Linked DNA regions of Homo sapiens: all the other regions are linked to region 1. The links are contacts of gene promoters, found by promoter capture Hi-C in human tissues and cell types (Jung and others, 2019). All regions are on one chromosome and are shown on one strand. The core of a region is centred on a gene start or on the middle of the fragment in contact, and the rest is flanking DNA. Distances in the headings are between cores, read along the strand shown.

What was found. The method cuts DNA at HindIII sites, captures the fragments that hold promoters and counts their contacts. A contact is called where the count stands out against the background at its distance.
Region 2: a fragment that was not itself captured here is called in contact with the fragment with the promoter of ENGASE in region 1 in 4 of the 25 tissues and cell types used here (dorsolateral prefrontal cortex, liver, spleen and 1 more).
Region 3: a contact is called between a fragment that was not itself captured here and the fragment with the promoter of ENGASE in region 1, in 2 of the 25 tissues and cell types used here (dorsolateral prefrontal cortex and heart right ventricle).

What each region holds. Positions count from the first base shown.
Region 1 is chr17:79,073,540-79,078,047 of GRCh38, forward strand. ENGASE (endo-beta-N-acetylglucosaminidase) reads left to right here and starts at 1,285. Exons shown (of 14, transcript NM_001042573.3): 1 at 1,285-1,551; 2 at 3,891-3,958; 3 at 4,124-4,325. The coding sequence starts at 1,406. RefSeq lists a silencer at 1,147-1,686. The HindIII fragment of the contact is 14,853 bases long and covers 1-4,508 here.
Region 2 is chr17:79,146,536-79,151,435 of GRCh38, forward strand. The region is part of intron 4 of RBFOX3 (RNA binding fox-1 homolog 3); the gene reads right to left. Among named protein-coding and RNA genes, the nearest start is that of ENGASE, 74 kb to the left of the region's middle. The HindIII fragment of the contact is 7,480 bases long and covers 1-4,900 here.
Region 3 is chr17:79,189,885-79,194,998 of GRCh38, forward strand. The region is part of intron 4 of RBFOX3 (RNA binding fox-1 homolog 3); the gene reads right to left. Among named protein-coding and RNA genes, the nearest start is that of ENGASE, 120 kb to the left of the region's middle. RefSeq lists an enhancer at 2,927-3,584. The HindIII fragment of the contact is 5,468 bases long and covers 476-5,114 here.

The DNA of each region.
Region 1 (4,508 bases), core at 35-2,534:
CCTGAACACAGCAGGAGGGAACTTGGGGATCCACTGCCCTCGCTCACTGTAAGCTTCCCAGGACTGAAGCCCCAAAGAGGAGCCCTCTGCCTTCTCTGTCCTCCCCATGGGTCAGCGTGTCCTGCTTCTGAGTGGCCCGTCCTTCCTGCCTAACTGGCTGGCCTGCACCATGGCCCATATTCAACAACCTTAGTCATAGTTCCCACCATTGGCGTTTATGGAAGCTTGGAGCCTCATAAAGTTCAAAGTCTGCAACAATAATAAAGGCCCAGTCAACTTGGCTTGGGCGGCAGCTGCAGCCCAGCACTGGAAGCTCCTAGCTGTGGAGGGGCGTTGGGGCCTGGAGGGAGGAGAGCCTTGGTTTGCCCTGTGGGGCCCAGCCTTGAGTTCTGGCTTCTCAGGGCTCTGTTCTATCATGTTTCCTGTGAACTCCTTTTGTGCCTAAGACGCTGGGCAGTGCCACTCTTGCAGAGGTGCCACTCCAGGCCCTGCACGCTTAGGGGTAGAGCAACTACTACTGTTGGGCACAGGCGTGGGGCTGTAGAAAGAAATCCGTGTTTCACTGGAAAACTATGCATCCTACATAGGACACCAGCTTCCACATGGCCCGATACTAACCTACTAACCTTTCATCTTTTTTTTTTTTTTTTTGAGACGGAGTCTCCCTCTGTCGCCCAGGCTGGAGTGCAATGGCACCGTCTCGGCTCATTGCAGCCTCTGCCTCCCGGGTTCCAGCGATTCTCCAGTCTCAGCCTCTCAGGTAGCTGGGATTACAGGCATGCACCACCACGCCCGGCTAATTTTTGTATTTTAAGTAGAGACGGGGTTTCACCATGTTGGCCAGGGTAGTCTCGAACTCCTGACTTCAGGTGATCCGCCCGCCTCGGCCTCCCAAAGTGCTGGAATCGCAGACGTGAGTCACCGCGCCCGGTCTGAAAATTATCTTTTAATAGGGGTTAGCTGCATGAGTTAAAATCTCATTGCCACCATTTGCTGACTTTGTGCCCTCTGGGAGATTGCTTAATCTCTCTGGGATAAACCTCGGTTTGCTTGACAAAGGAAGCTGGTGAGGCTAAAGAGAGAACTCTAAGATTGGGGCGTTCCGAAGCCTTCTAGAGCCTTCTAGCACCCTGGACTCATAGCCAATGATGGGCAACAACAAGAACGACGACGAACCCTGGGCTCGGAACTCGCCCAGGCCCCGCCCCTCACAGCCCCGCCCCGTCCTCGGCCCCGCCCCCGGCCTGTCGCCTCAACAAAGTCCCCGCCGCGCGGCCGCTGGCCGGGAGTCAGCTCGGAGTCCCGTCCCAGCGCGGCGTCAGCGCTGCGCACTTCCCATTGGCCGAGCGCGGCGCGGGGGCGGGCCCGGGCCTGCGATTGCCTCTCGGCGTGCGCGGACAGTGTCATGGAGGCCGCGGCGGTGACGGTCACCCGGTCGGCTACACGGCGGCGGCGGCGGCAGCTGCAGGGGCTGGCGGCCCCGGAGGCGGGGACGCAGGAGGAGCAGGAGGATCAGGAGCCGCGGCCGCGGCGGCGGCGGCCGGGAAGGAGGTGGGGCTGCGGGGCCCGCGTGAACCCCGATCCGCGGGGCTGAGAGTCCGTGGCCCCGGGGCCCGAGGTTTCCCGGCACGGGCGCGCCGAGGGGCGGGGGGCCGGCGCCTGTGTCCGCTCCGTGCACAGTAAGGGACAGAGGGTGGCAGCGCCCCTCCGCCCCGGTCCGCCCCGCCGTCCTCGCGCCACTGCCGGGCAGCGGCCTCCGGCCCCCGTGCGTGACCCCTGCCTATCTCAGAAATACGGGTGCAAACCCGAGTGGCCGCGGGGCCCAGCGGGAATCCCGACGCCCCGGCCAGACCCCTGCTTCCCACGTCGCTGGTCTATGCGGAAGATCCCGGCGGCGGTGCTCATGCCTGGCTCAGTGGATGCCGGCTGGTGGAAGGGGTGGCCTTCTGTAGGGGTGACACTAGAACTGAGTCTTTGGGGAGGAGGAAGCCTTCAGTAGGTGGAGAATAGGGAGTAGGGTATCCAACTGGCGGGGAACAGAAAGGGCCAAAGCACAGAGACAGAAAGGGACGAACATGCCCCTCTGGGCTGGGCTTCCTTCCTTTGGGGGGCACTTGCCCACCCGGTAAACTCCCCCTCAGTAGGTTGCAGGGGGAGAAGTTAGGAGCACAGACATGGCTTCCGGAAACAGCAGCCGTAGCTTTGTTTCTAAACCCAAAGCAGTGAGACTGCTGAGCATTTCAGACCTCATGAAGATGGGATGAAGGCTGGCTGCTGGGAAAGATATTTTTGGACAGGAGGAATGTGGAGATGGCTCTTTCCCTCCTAGTGGAGGAATGACAGGTGACAAAGGTGACCTGGTGTGGGATTGTTCTGAGAAGGTCTGGGAGGGGGTGGCTGAAGTATAATAAGGACATCAACGAGGAAGGGGGCTTTGGAAAAGGAAGGTGGAGAGGAACAACTGCGGCATCTCTGCTTGAATCCGTCCCCGACCCCTGCAGTTCTCAGGGTCTCCCAATGTCATTCTGGAGGCCCTGGGTCAGTGTTTGGTGATGGCAGATGCTACAGAGGACTCTTTGCAACAGGCCTCTGAATGGCAGTGGAGTGATGGCAGATGACAACTCAGTGAACAAAGAAGTGGCCTTGGGCGTTGGTAGATTTAGGGAATCTCAACGTTGGTGCCATGGCCTCTAAATAGCCACTGCGGTGTCTTCTTACTGCTCCTAAAATAATAATGATTTTTTAGGCCAGGCATGGTGGCTTATGCCTGTAATCTCAGCACTTGGGAGGCTGAGGCGTGTGATCACCTGAGTTCGGGAGTTTGAGACCAGCCTGGCCAACATGGTGAAACTCAGTCTCTACTAAAAGTACAAAATTAGTCAGGCGTGGTGGCAGATGCCTGTAATCCCAGCTACTTGGGAGGCTGAGGCAGGAGACTCACTTGAACCCAGGAACTGGAGGTTGCAGTGAGCTGAGATTTCACCACCTTACTCCAGCCTGGGCGACAGAGCGAGACTCTGTCTCAATTAATCAATCAATTTTTAAAAGAAAGTGGTTTGAGATGTATTTAGGAGCTTTCCATGTTAATGTACCGAAGGAACGAAGGAACTCTTTCTCCCTGTAACATACATCCATGAACAGCGCGGAAGGCACTTAGGGAAGTGTGGCCTATAGAGGAAGCCTGGTCTCTGCTCTCTTAGGACCTGAAACTTTCTGGTGCTTTGGGTATTTGGATATTGCCCCTTGGCCATAGAAAATCCTGGGGACCCTGTGAAGTATTTATGTCTGGTCTTTGTGGTATTGGGGTGGCTGCTTTAGAGGGTAAGGTTTATTCTATTTATTTATTTTTTTGAGATGGAGTCTCGTTCTGTTGCCCAAGTTGGAGTGTAGTGGCACAGTCCCGGCTCACTGCAACCTTCGCCTCCCAGGTTCAAGTGATTCTCCCTGCCTCAGCCTCCCAAGGTGCTGGGATTACAGGCGTGTGCCACCATGCCCAGCTAATTTTTGTATTAGTAGAGATGGGGTTTTGCCATGTTGGCCAGGCTGGTCTTTAACTCCTGACCTCAGGTGATTCGCCTGCCTTGGCTTCCCAAAGTGTTGGGATTACAGGCGTGAACCACTGCGTCTGGCCTAGGGTAAGGTTTATTCTTAGGAGTAATCATTGGTACGTGTGTCCATGTGGAAGCCAAGCCCTGGTTGCTAATATAGGTAAAACCTTAGGATTATCACAGGGCACTTCCTTGCTTTATACAATGTTTCTATAGTTAATATTAAACAACATAAGGCAGAGAATATCTCTCTGTGTTTAGATGAAACTGGTCCATTTGCTTCTAAGTGTTCTTACCTATTTATGTTTTTATTTATAAATGTACAACTCCCTCTTTGCTTAGCATCAAAGATGAAGAAGAAGAGACAGTCTTTCGAGAGGTGGTCAGTTTTTCCCCGGACCCCCTGCCAGGTGAGGAGACAGAGGCTCTGAATACCGATCCACCTTCACACCTGGGGCTTTGGGGCAGGTCAGCCCCTGCCCCCTCTCATGTTCCTTCTCTGTTATTGTTAAAATGTTTCGATTAATCCTATAATAGTTTCCATTAATTGCTCAATGTTTCTGTCCTCGGACCAGTTAGATATTATGACAAGGACACCACCAAACCAATCAGCTTTTACTTGTCTTCGCTGGAGGAGCTCTTGGCGTGGAAGCCCCGCTTGGAGGATGGCTTTAATGTGGCCCTGGAGCCCCTGGCGTGTCGCCAGCCCCCTCTGAGCAGCCAGAGGCCCCGGACTTTGTTGTGTCATGACATGATGGGCGGGTACCTGGATGACAGGTGAGGACCTGGCCTTACATTGATGTTGCTTACATTGTTCTCCTTTGCTGGGGTGGGGGCTGGAGGGGCGGGAGAGAGTGCCATGTGTAGAAAGAGCACTGGGCGGGGAGTCAGGAGACGGGCATTGGAGGGATGGCACTAACTGCGAGAAGAAGGCAGGCCCCAGTGTTTCATCTGTAAAAA
Region 2 (4,900 bases), core at 1,712-4,211, 75 kb after region 1:
AACCCTACATGCCATCCTGGTTCCAGGCAAAGCCAGTCGGTTCCCAGGTGTGTGCAAAGCAGCCAGACAAGCCTTGTGCCTCACTGGGGAGCAGCTGAGGGGCTGGTCTGTGTGTGACCAGCTGCCATCTGCGAGTCCAGCCCCACCTGGCTCTGGAGCAGAGCTGGTGCCTGCCCAGGGCCCAGAAAAGCTTCTCCATGGGGGCCTGGGCCTGCAGCCTGCTGGTCACGTGGGTCTGCTGCTGGGAGGTCCTGCAGAAGCTGGGGAAGATGGTGGGTCTCCTCTCTGCAGGCTCAACCTCACCATGAGGAGGGGGCAGAGGCCTGAGGAGGGCGGGTGCCCCTGCTGTGAGCCCCTGGGCAGGGTGTCTGGCAGCTCCTTGGCTGCCCCCTTTGGCTTTAGCAAAACATGATCAAAACGGGCCCCCTGCCTGCCTCCTGGACACACCCAGGGGTGAGATCCTTTACTTTGGATCTTACAGGGAACAGGGGACAAAATAAGAAACTGCACCAGCCTCCGGGTGTCCCGGGGTCAGCCCCCGGTGCCAGGTTCCCAGCCTGCTGTGCTGCTGTCTGGACACCAGAGCCAGGACCCTCCAATTCCAAGGCTGCTCCCTTGCCCTCCCGTCCGTGTCGTCCTCAGAGATGGCACGGCCCAAGTCAGGAGGACACTGTGGTCACAGGAGGCGCTGGCCATGTCTGGCCTTCTGGAGGAGGCAGGAAATCCATTCAGTGCCCACCTCTGCAGGTGGCCGGGAGGACAGCTTCAGTTCACCAGCCCTACGCAGCCCATTTTACAGAAGCAGAAACCCAGATGTAGAGAAGATAATTAACTAGGGAACATCAGAGTTGGGGTTTGAGCCCAAAGCCTGGAAGAGGCTGTAAAGGCAGTGAGGCCGCCAGCCTTCCCCCAACCCCTCCGGAGCCTGGCCCATGCTGTGCGCCAGAAGAGGCCTGGGGAGTTCCCTGCTGCCCTGAGAGGCAGGCCCTGGTCCAGAGATCGGGAGGATCTCATTGGGGAGGGGGGGGGCTCACCTTCTGGTAAGAGGATCCTGGGGGCCATGGCTGTCCCCTGCCCTTGGCAAAGCCCAAAGCAGGTAGTTGGCAAGACCCCAAAAGGCAGAGCACGTGGAGCCCAATCAGCCTTGCACACCCCTGGTTCTGGGCTGGCCAAGGGCCTTGTCCGCCACCCACAAGTGTGTCCAGGCAGGCTCTGCGCCCCTGGTGCCCAGTACCTGGCCAGGGCTGCCGGTGGGCGACGAGGCAGTAGCTGGTGCAAGCTTTGCCAAGCGCCTTCGATCCAGCCTCTCTCTCATGCTAATGACTGTCAACATGAAACAGAGGCTGTGAAGGGGAAGAAAATTACTCCCTGAAAAGGAATTGACTGATCCCCATCATTTCTCAAGGAATCACTGACCTGTGAATATTTCATTACCCAAAATGCTGCACCATCCATCCAGAGCCGCCGCTGCCGTGGGGCCCCGGGGGGAGGGCGGATGTACAGGGCCAGGCTCTGGCCTGTGACCAAGATTTCCTCACCGTGGGACCCCAGGGTGCGTGCGGCCCTAAAGACCCAGAGACAGGTGTCTGGCAGACAGGAACACGGTAGCCTCTCTAGGTTTTGGGAGCGGTCATGGCTAACACTCCTTGCAGCTGTGTTCTGTGCCTGGAGTCTCCATTCTGGTTGGAGGACTGGGGTCCCGTTTCCCACCCACAGTCCCTTCTCCAGCCTCCCAAGGTCCCTTCCCAAGCCTCTCGGCTGCCTCCTGCAGGCCTCACTCAGAAACTCTTTCCTGGCTTGGGGCGGGTCCAAGTCTAGATGTTTCTAGAAGCTCAAACATGCCCTGTGCCCCACTGCTGGGGCCTGGGTGACAGAAGTTGGGGGGTGGAAGGGGCAGGGCTCATGCCACAGCCTGAAGCCAAACCCAGGTTTGAGCCACAGGAGGAGGGAGAAGCACCCCACACCCCCCCAGACCATGGTTCCAATCCTGCCTCTGTCCCCGGCCACTGAGTGCCTCCCGAAGGCCACTGAACTTCTCTGGGTATCCGCTTCCTAGTCTTCAACTGAGGCTAACAGTAGTTGGGGCCACCTTACAGGTTGTTGAGAATAAACTAAGACCAAGATCTAATCTCAGTGCCCGACATGAGGCAGTTGCTTCCTGGAAGTGATGAGAGTTGGGCGACTCTATCCCAGAAGCACAGGCCACAGAGTCTGAGGACGCAGGGGAGGGAGGCCGACCCCGCCGGGGCTCCCTGCAGCCTCCGAGGGCCTCTGCGGGCCTGGCTGGGGTAGGCTAAGGCCAAAGTCCCCAGAGGATGGGAAAGGCTGAGACCACCCTCGCTGGCACTGATCAGGTCCTGAGTTTGTAAGGTCATGGGGGATGGAGGGGGACAGCCTGGGGCTTTCTCCAGGAACTTCAAGGGGCTGGAATAATTCATTCAAGAAACGCTAACCATAAAACCCTCATGCTGTTCTGGGCTTGGACTGGGTGGGATTCAAACACTCAGCCTGCAGCTCCCACCACTGACGAACAGCGCACTCTAAAGCTTAAGAAGCACAAGGAGATCCTCCAGGGCATGGAGGCTCCCGCAGCACCCAGGCTGGGACCCCCGCTGCCTGCCAGGAAAATGCGACGTCTGTGCTATTATTGCCGGGGTTACACCAGGGATGGTGTTTCCAAATTAGCAAAGGCCTGGGAAGGTGGCAGGGCATCCATCTGGGGCTTAGTAGAGCGTGGGAGGCAGCATCTCGGGACCCCTCCCTGGCCCGGTGCAGCCACGGGGAGCCCAGATGCAGGCAGTGGGGGGAGTGGGGGCACGGGGGAGGACAAAGGGGGGCTTGGCTCAGGCCCAGCCCCGGCCCCTCCTGGTGGCTCTCCCCACTCGTTGGATTGGAACACGGGCATTGCTGTCCTGGGGGAGGAGCAGGGCTGGACACGAGAGTGGACCTGGCCTCAGTGAGAAGGACTTTGGTGGGCTGTGGGGAGGAGCTTCAGGCTGTGAAGTGGGTGGGGCAGTGGGAAGTGTGCCTGGGGGGGTCCGTGGACGATTCCTCCTTCGGGACTGCTTGACCACTGCCTTCCCCGCCAGCTGGACCGTCCCCACACACTGCAGAAGGTTGGGGGTGGCCTAGGGGCTCATGCCCGCCCGCTCAGGCCTTCTCTCACTTTGTCGGACCCAAGACCCTGGGATGTCGAGTGGGGTCAGTAAACGGACCTGCAGGTCCTGGGAGGACAGGGCAGGGCGGCTGCTGGGCATCGCCATGAGCTGAGCTTCCACTGAGCATCTCTGAGTGCCAGGGTGAGGGGACAGAGATGGCTGCCAGCCTCCTCCTCTGGGGCCTGGAGACAGGAGGGGGACAGGTGTTATAATAAGCAGTGACAGTGGCTGCGCTGAGGACTCAGGCTAAGTGCCAGGGTGGGGATGGGGATGGGGGCTGAGGGTGGGGATGGGGATGGGGGTGGGGGTGGGGGATGGGGATGGGGGTTGAGGGTGGGGGGTGGGGGTGGGGGATGGGGATGGGGGTTGAGGGTGGGGGTTTGGGGTGGATCTAGTTGGAGGCAGACAAGGAGGGACTCTCAGGTATCCACAGGGGAGGGGCAACCAGGAGCTGCCCTTGAGGTCAGGACAAGAGGGTGGTGGGCAGCGGTGGGCGGCAGCTGTGGGCCACGACCTAGAGCAGCAGCCACGTCCCAGGAGACTGAGGCCCTCAAGGCACAAAGCCTCGTGGGGGGTCCTGGCTGGGGCCCAGGCCACTCTGCTTGGGTAGGACGCTCTGGGTCAAGGGGCAGAGTGGCTGCTGTGGGCCTGGGACACGCAGACAGTAGAGGCCTGGCCGTTCTCTGGGCTCTGCAGGCGGCCAACCCCCTAACTCAGCTCCATCCGCAACCCCCATACCCTGTTCCCCAGCCCAGGAGGTTCCTTCAGTGCCTCAACCTCACCCTGGTCCCGCCTGCCCATCACTCAAGATAGGAGGCAGCTGAACTGCCGGACACTCTACAGGTGGCCGCGCTGGCTCAACTTCTTTGAGAACCAGGGGAGACAATGGGAGGTGCAGGGCCACCAGAGCTGTCACTGAAGTAGGGGATACCTGACCACCTCTGGGGGCAAGGCCAGGCCTGCCAGGGGCAGGGGCAACAGATTCACCTCCCATCTCCTCCTTTCCCCAGCAACCCCACACCTGCCCCACATTCTTAGCCAGAGAAGAGGCAGGTAGGGATGGGCACTTCCGAGAAAAGAGGGGGGCAGGGAACTGCAGAGGCCACAGGGTGCCTCTGACTGGCCATGGGGCCTCAGGGGGGTCACCTCAGCTCGAGCCTCAGTGTCCCCGTGTGCGCAATGGGAGGACGAGGGCTTGCTCATGCCTAGCGCCGCCTGCGAGGGAGCCTCAGTTGGGCAACGAGCCTGGCTTGCTGCCTGCCACAGAGGGCTGGGCAGTGCTGGTGGCCGCCCCGCTGCTGTGCGGCTCTCACCAGGGCAAGGCCACCTCCCCAGTCCACGCTCCGCAAGTGCTCAGCACACACACATCCCTCCACCATGCTGGGCCCTGGACTCTCAGAACCACAATAAATGCAGCTCTTGGCGCAGATTCTGGGTTTGATCCTCGCGCTGCTCCCCCTACTCGGGGCAAGCAACAAAGCCGGCATCAGACCCTGCGTGCTGACCACCCCCTGCCCTGGGAGGGCTGAGGGGAACACAAGAGAAGAAAAAGACACACAGTCCAGGGGGAGAAGCGAAATCCAGTGCCGGGGCTGAAGGGACCCTGGGTCAGCTGCCCCACGGGACGCGTGGTCCCGACGGCTCTGGGTCCAGACACGTTCGGTGTCACGGGAAGGAGGGGAAGGGGCTTCCCGGCAGAGAGCAAAGGCACGGGGCTGGGAGGGGACCTGCAGGGGGAGGAG
Region 3 (5,114 bases), core at 1,960-4,459, 120 kb after region 1:
AAGTGCCCTTGGATGGTTGGGCCCCCACTGCAGACATGACTGATGACAGCCTTTGCTCCTGCCAGGGCAGGGATCGCACCAGCCAAGGAAAACCCATATCACTCGCTGCTCCACGCAGCCCACCCAGGAGGCATGCACCGCTAACATCACTCTTGGTACCCCCACTTGCTCTCCTTCAGCATCAGGGTCAACTCCAGCCTCCTGTTTGAGGTCACCTCTTTCCCCCAATCAAATAACAGAGTGAAGGCCGGGTGCAGTGGCTCACGCCTGTAATCCCAGCACTTTGGGAGGCCAAGGCGGGTGGATCACCTGAGGCCAGGAGTTTGAGATCAGCCTGGGCAACATGGTGAAACCCCATCTCTACTAAAAATACAAAATTAGCCAGGCGTGGTGACACATGCCTTTAATCCTAGCTACTCGGGAGGCTGAGGCAGGAGAATCACTTGAATCTGGGAGGCGGAGGATGCGGTGAGCCGTGATCGCGCCATTGCACTCCAGCCTGGGCAACAAGAGTAAATCTCTGTCTCACCAAAAAAAAAAAAAAAAACAAAAAAACAGAGTGAAGAAGAAGAAAGGAGTCCTCAGGGACAAGAGTGATGGGGCTGGAAGGGGAAGTGGCATCACGTCGCCCAGTCCCCGGCCTTCTAGCTGGCAGACACCAAAGCCTTCAGAGACACGTGCTCTCTTTTTTTTCCCCTTGAAGCTCTCCACTGGGGGAGACCCTGCTGTCTCTCCGGGGAGCCCAGTTAGGTTTTTATCACCCTGAGTGCCAAGAAACTCTGCCTCGTGGTACACAAACCTTTTCCGTCTTAATTTTATTCAAAGGGTGAAGGCTTTGAAAGAGTGACAAGGGGGAGCTTAGACCAGAAGCTGAAGCCACTGCCGCTCCCTGTAGCTCCCAGGAGGGACTGGGGCCACTGACCAAAACTTGTAGAGCAAAGCCGTGCATAAAGGGAGGGGGCTGAGTGAGCACAGCTCTTGCATACCGATGGGGAACAGGAGCCCTGCACTCTCAGGGTGTCCAAAAGGGAAGACTGTACACACAATGTGGGTACAATTTGGGTAGCTCCCATTGCTACGGCCGGCATGAATTTGCACCATGTTTGGTTAGAATTGAACTGAGGAAACAGCATTCAGGGTTCCTGAGTAGAGACCCATGGGAAGAGGTCAAGGTTTGTTCTTCCATCAACAGCGGGTGGGTCTGAGCTGACCCCTGGGTAGAGGCAGCAAGGGTCCACCTCCAGCAGTGAAGTGGCTGGGTGCTCCCATTTGCCATCAATTTTTAGAAAATCTTACTTAACAGAGAAACCAATATCCCTTCCTCCAGCACTGGGCAAGGAGAGGCCACATGGAGAGCACGTGCAGCACTGTAGAGAGGGAATGGTGGCCCGGGGGTACCCCGCACCCCAGGACTGGGAAGTTAGGACCTTCAAACTCTGACCAAACCTGAAAGACTCTGGAAAAAGCAGCTGCCTGTAGCCCCAGCCCCAGCACTCAGTGAGTTAAAAAGCAACCGCAAGGCCTCGGGAAACAGAATGTGAGGGGCGGGCACTCTGTTCGTCCCCTGCCCCTGCATGCCCCCTAAAGCCAAAGCGTCAGCTCATTAAAAGCTCATTAGGAGCCCAAGGCACACAAAGGCCCGGAGAGGCATTACTGTCCTGGCAGAGTGCGTGGCCCTGGGGAGGCCGATGCACTGCTAGGCAGCCAGTGCCAAGCTGCAGACAGGGGCCGGGCCATGGAGTGACGAGGCGGCCGGCGGCGGGAGGTAGGGGTGCAAGGTCCTTCTAACGAAGCCTCATGGGAGCTGAGCTTGTCCCAGGACTCAAGGGAGTGGGGACGAGCATATCTGCCAGGAAGCAAAGGAACAGATGCAGACGGTAACCTACAGACTCACCTCCCCACACCTCCACAATGACAGAGGCCAGATAAGAGTTCCTTTCTCAGGCTTTGAGAGCAAGGAGAAGGCAGGGTTAGGCAGGACCCTGGGCAGCCTCTTCCCTCCCGGCAGCCTAAGATACACCAGGGAAGTTGTGTGAATTGCTGCCCGGTGAGCAGAGATGGGGCAGTGGATGCTGATGTGTTTTAGTCCCTAAAAGTTGCCCAAGAGCAGGGGAAGTGCCTATCTGGTGGGGGTGTGGAAGCTTGTCTTGAGTTAGGTGTGAAGCTATTCTGAGGCTGCCACCCCTGCCAACCCCCTACCGTCTCCTCCCTCTTGATCCTGGGAGGAAAATCCCTCCCCTTTCCTGATCCACTCTAGCATTGGGGTCCAGCGATGTTTTGGCCCCAACACAACTCTCCAGTTCCAAGGCATGAGGTTTCTGAGAATTCACTGGCAAGGAGGTGTGGGAAGTTGGCAGCCAGCTGAGGGCCCTATGCTGCTCTTAGCCGCTCCCGGCCTTTCCTCCCACTGAGAGTTGCTGCATCAGGATGGGGGGGAGCCGTCTGTTCCTGCTCTTACTTCCCTAGGATGCTGTGACTTTTGATTCCTGCTTGATTAATATACAGCCAACAGAGACTGTATTTAAGGCAGCTTTAATTCTCTCAGGTCACCAAACTCGGGAGCAGCAAAGCTGCAAGGAGCCAGCCCCGCAATAGATCAAACACCAGGACCTTCAAATCGCTCTGTGGCCCAATTTCTTATTGCTGCTGCTGCCTGATAACCCTCCCAGCTTGGAGGCAATAGCTCCTTTTTCTAGGGGTGGACACGGGGGCTGGATGTGGATGTCCATGGCTGAAACCCTCCTGGCAGCACGGAACGAGAGCTGGAAGGACCGGGCACGAGAGTGAGACCGTCAGCACCAGGGACAGCTCCAGCCAGACCCTGGAGCCGCCGTGGCTGCCTACACCTCTGTCTCCCTGGGCCCAAACAAGCACGGGTGTCAGTGAACTCTCTGTTTTGCAGGGGTGGCCAGCGGCTAGCCCTGCTGATGGCCACCTTTTACCAAAACATCCTCGCCTGTTGAGTTAGCCTGCTGCTCCCTTTGGGGCCCTGCACACTCTCACTGGCTCTGTCTCCCTTTAGGAGATCCAGCTTTTGCCATCCCTGACCCCCAGAGGGAAGCAGGCTGCTGTGAGGACTATCTGTCTGGCCTCTGTGCCAGCCCCTGGTGCCCAGGGCTTCTGTGGGGCCAACAGTTTCCTTCCTGGCTGAACCTCATCCGCTTCCAACTTGCCTCATTAGCATCTCCTGAAAGGCAGGCTAATTCCTCTGCTGAGCACCTGGGTGTTCACTTGCTCGGTGGGGGCAGGGGCAGGCATGCCGGCATGGCTGCCGTTTCCTCCAAAGCACCTTTTATAGACCTGGTCCGTGTTGCAATTTGGGAGGCACCGGGGAGCAGCACAATGTGGGGAGATTACGCTCGGAAGCCGGGCTTGTAAATTACCTCCCAGTGGGGGCAGGGAATGTGCCTATTAACAGAGAACCTGGTGCACACAGCCATTCTCATTTAAGAGCAGGATCTTCCCGGATCAGACTCTGATCAATCCTTGCTGCCACCAACACACCATATATTAGGAAGAAATGTTTGCATTGAAGTTGGAGGAAGCCCCATACTCACCTCCCCCCGCCAACCCCCTACTGCTGTTTTATTAGGATTTTCTCTAAACCCAGCCCCATTGGATTTATTCCCCCTGCTCTGCCTCTATCCACTTAAAAATATTGTCTATGGATTTTCAAATTATTGCTACACTTTCTAAGAGAAGGATGCAGTGGTTAAAAATTAACAGCAAATTTATGGGAATTCTATATGGCAATTACAGAATTATAATGAAGTGGCTGCCACTTGGCTGAGTGTGGGTAATTGGAAATCCACACTGGGAAGACTAGAATCTTTACTGTATTGGAATTGTGTTTTTGAGAGTAAATGCTGTGGAGAGGGTCAATGGAGCCTTGAGTAGGCCAAGTTCTTCTCTACAGGAAAAAGTGGTCTGCTCACTGCCTATTGGGAGGCAATTTAGAAGGAGAATCACTTATGCTGGCCCACAGGAAGGTGGCTGGAAACCACTGGGGGAGGTAGGTGTTCCGGGCTAGGGGAGCAGGCCTGATGGTGGAGGAGGTGGGAGTGGGAGAGCATGAAGGGAGGAAGGCCAGGGCATCACCAGCAGAGGGAAGGCCCACTGTGGTGCAGCTCGAGCCTGACAGAAGGCAGCACCGAAACCCTGATGTTCTCCCTGCCCTGTGGGTTCATTTTCCTTGGAAAAAAATTTTGGTAAAAAAACAGAGATGATTTTATCATGAAGACACCAATGTTGCTCTCCTTTCACATGGCGCTGTCCTCGCTCCCACAGCTGCTGTGGTAGAAATGGACTTTGCCTCTGATCTCCTCTGCAGCTCTTTAGGGCCTTAGTGGCTGAGAGGTGGAGCAGGAGTCTGTGATAAGGGAGCCCAGATTCCGAGCAAGGGGGTTCTGCCAGGAATCTAGGTACAAACTGCCTCCTGGAAGCCAGGTGCGGTGGCTCACACCTGTAATCCCAGCACTTTGGGAGGCTGAGGCGGGTGGATCACTTGAGGTCAGGAGTTCAAGACCAGCCTGGCCAACATGGTGAAACCCTGTCTCTACTAAAAATACAAAAATTAGCCAGGCATGGTGGGCATGCCTGTAGTCCCAGCTACCGGGGAGGCTGAGGCAGGAGAATTGCTTGAACCTGGGAGGCGGAGGTTGCAGTGAGCTGAGATTGCACCAGCCACTGTACTCTAGCCTGGGTGACAAAGTGAGAGTCTGTCTCAAAAGAAAAAAAAAAACTGCTTCCTGGTTCTTCAAGAGTTTTGTGTAGACCTGGTGCTGTTGAGTGCAGGGGCCACGGGCCACATGTGGGCATTCAGAGCTAAAACACGGCCGGTTCTAATTGAGACACTCCCTGTGTGTGTGGGTGTGTGTGTGTGTGTGTGTGTGTGTGAAATGCACATGGGATTTTGATGACTTGGGACCATAAAAAGAGTGAAAAAATAGTTTGTATCTAGATTACATGTCAAAATGATCATATTCAGGTATATTGGGTTACATAAAGCGTATAATTGAGTGCCCCCAGTTTTGTTTGTTTTACTTTCTCAATGTGGGTGCTGAAGAATTAAGCATTTCCATGTGTGGCCTGCATTATGCTTCTATTGGGCAGCT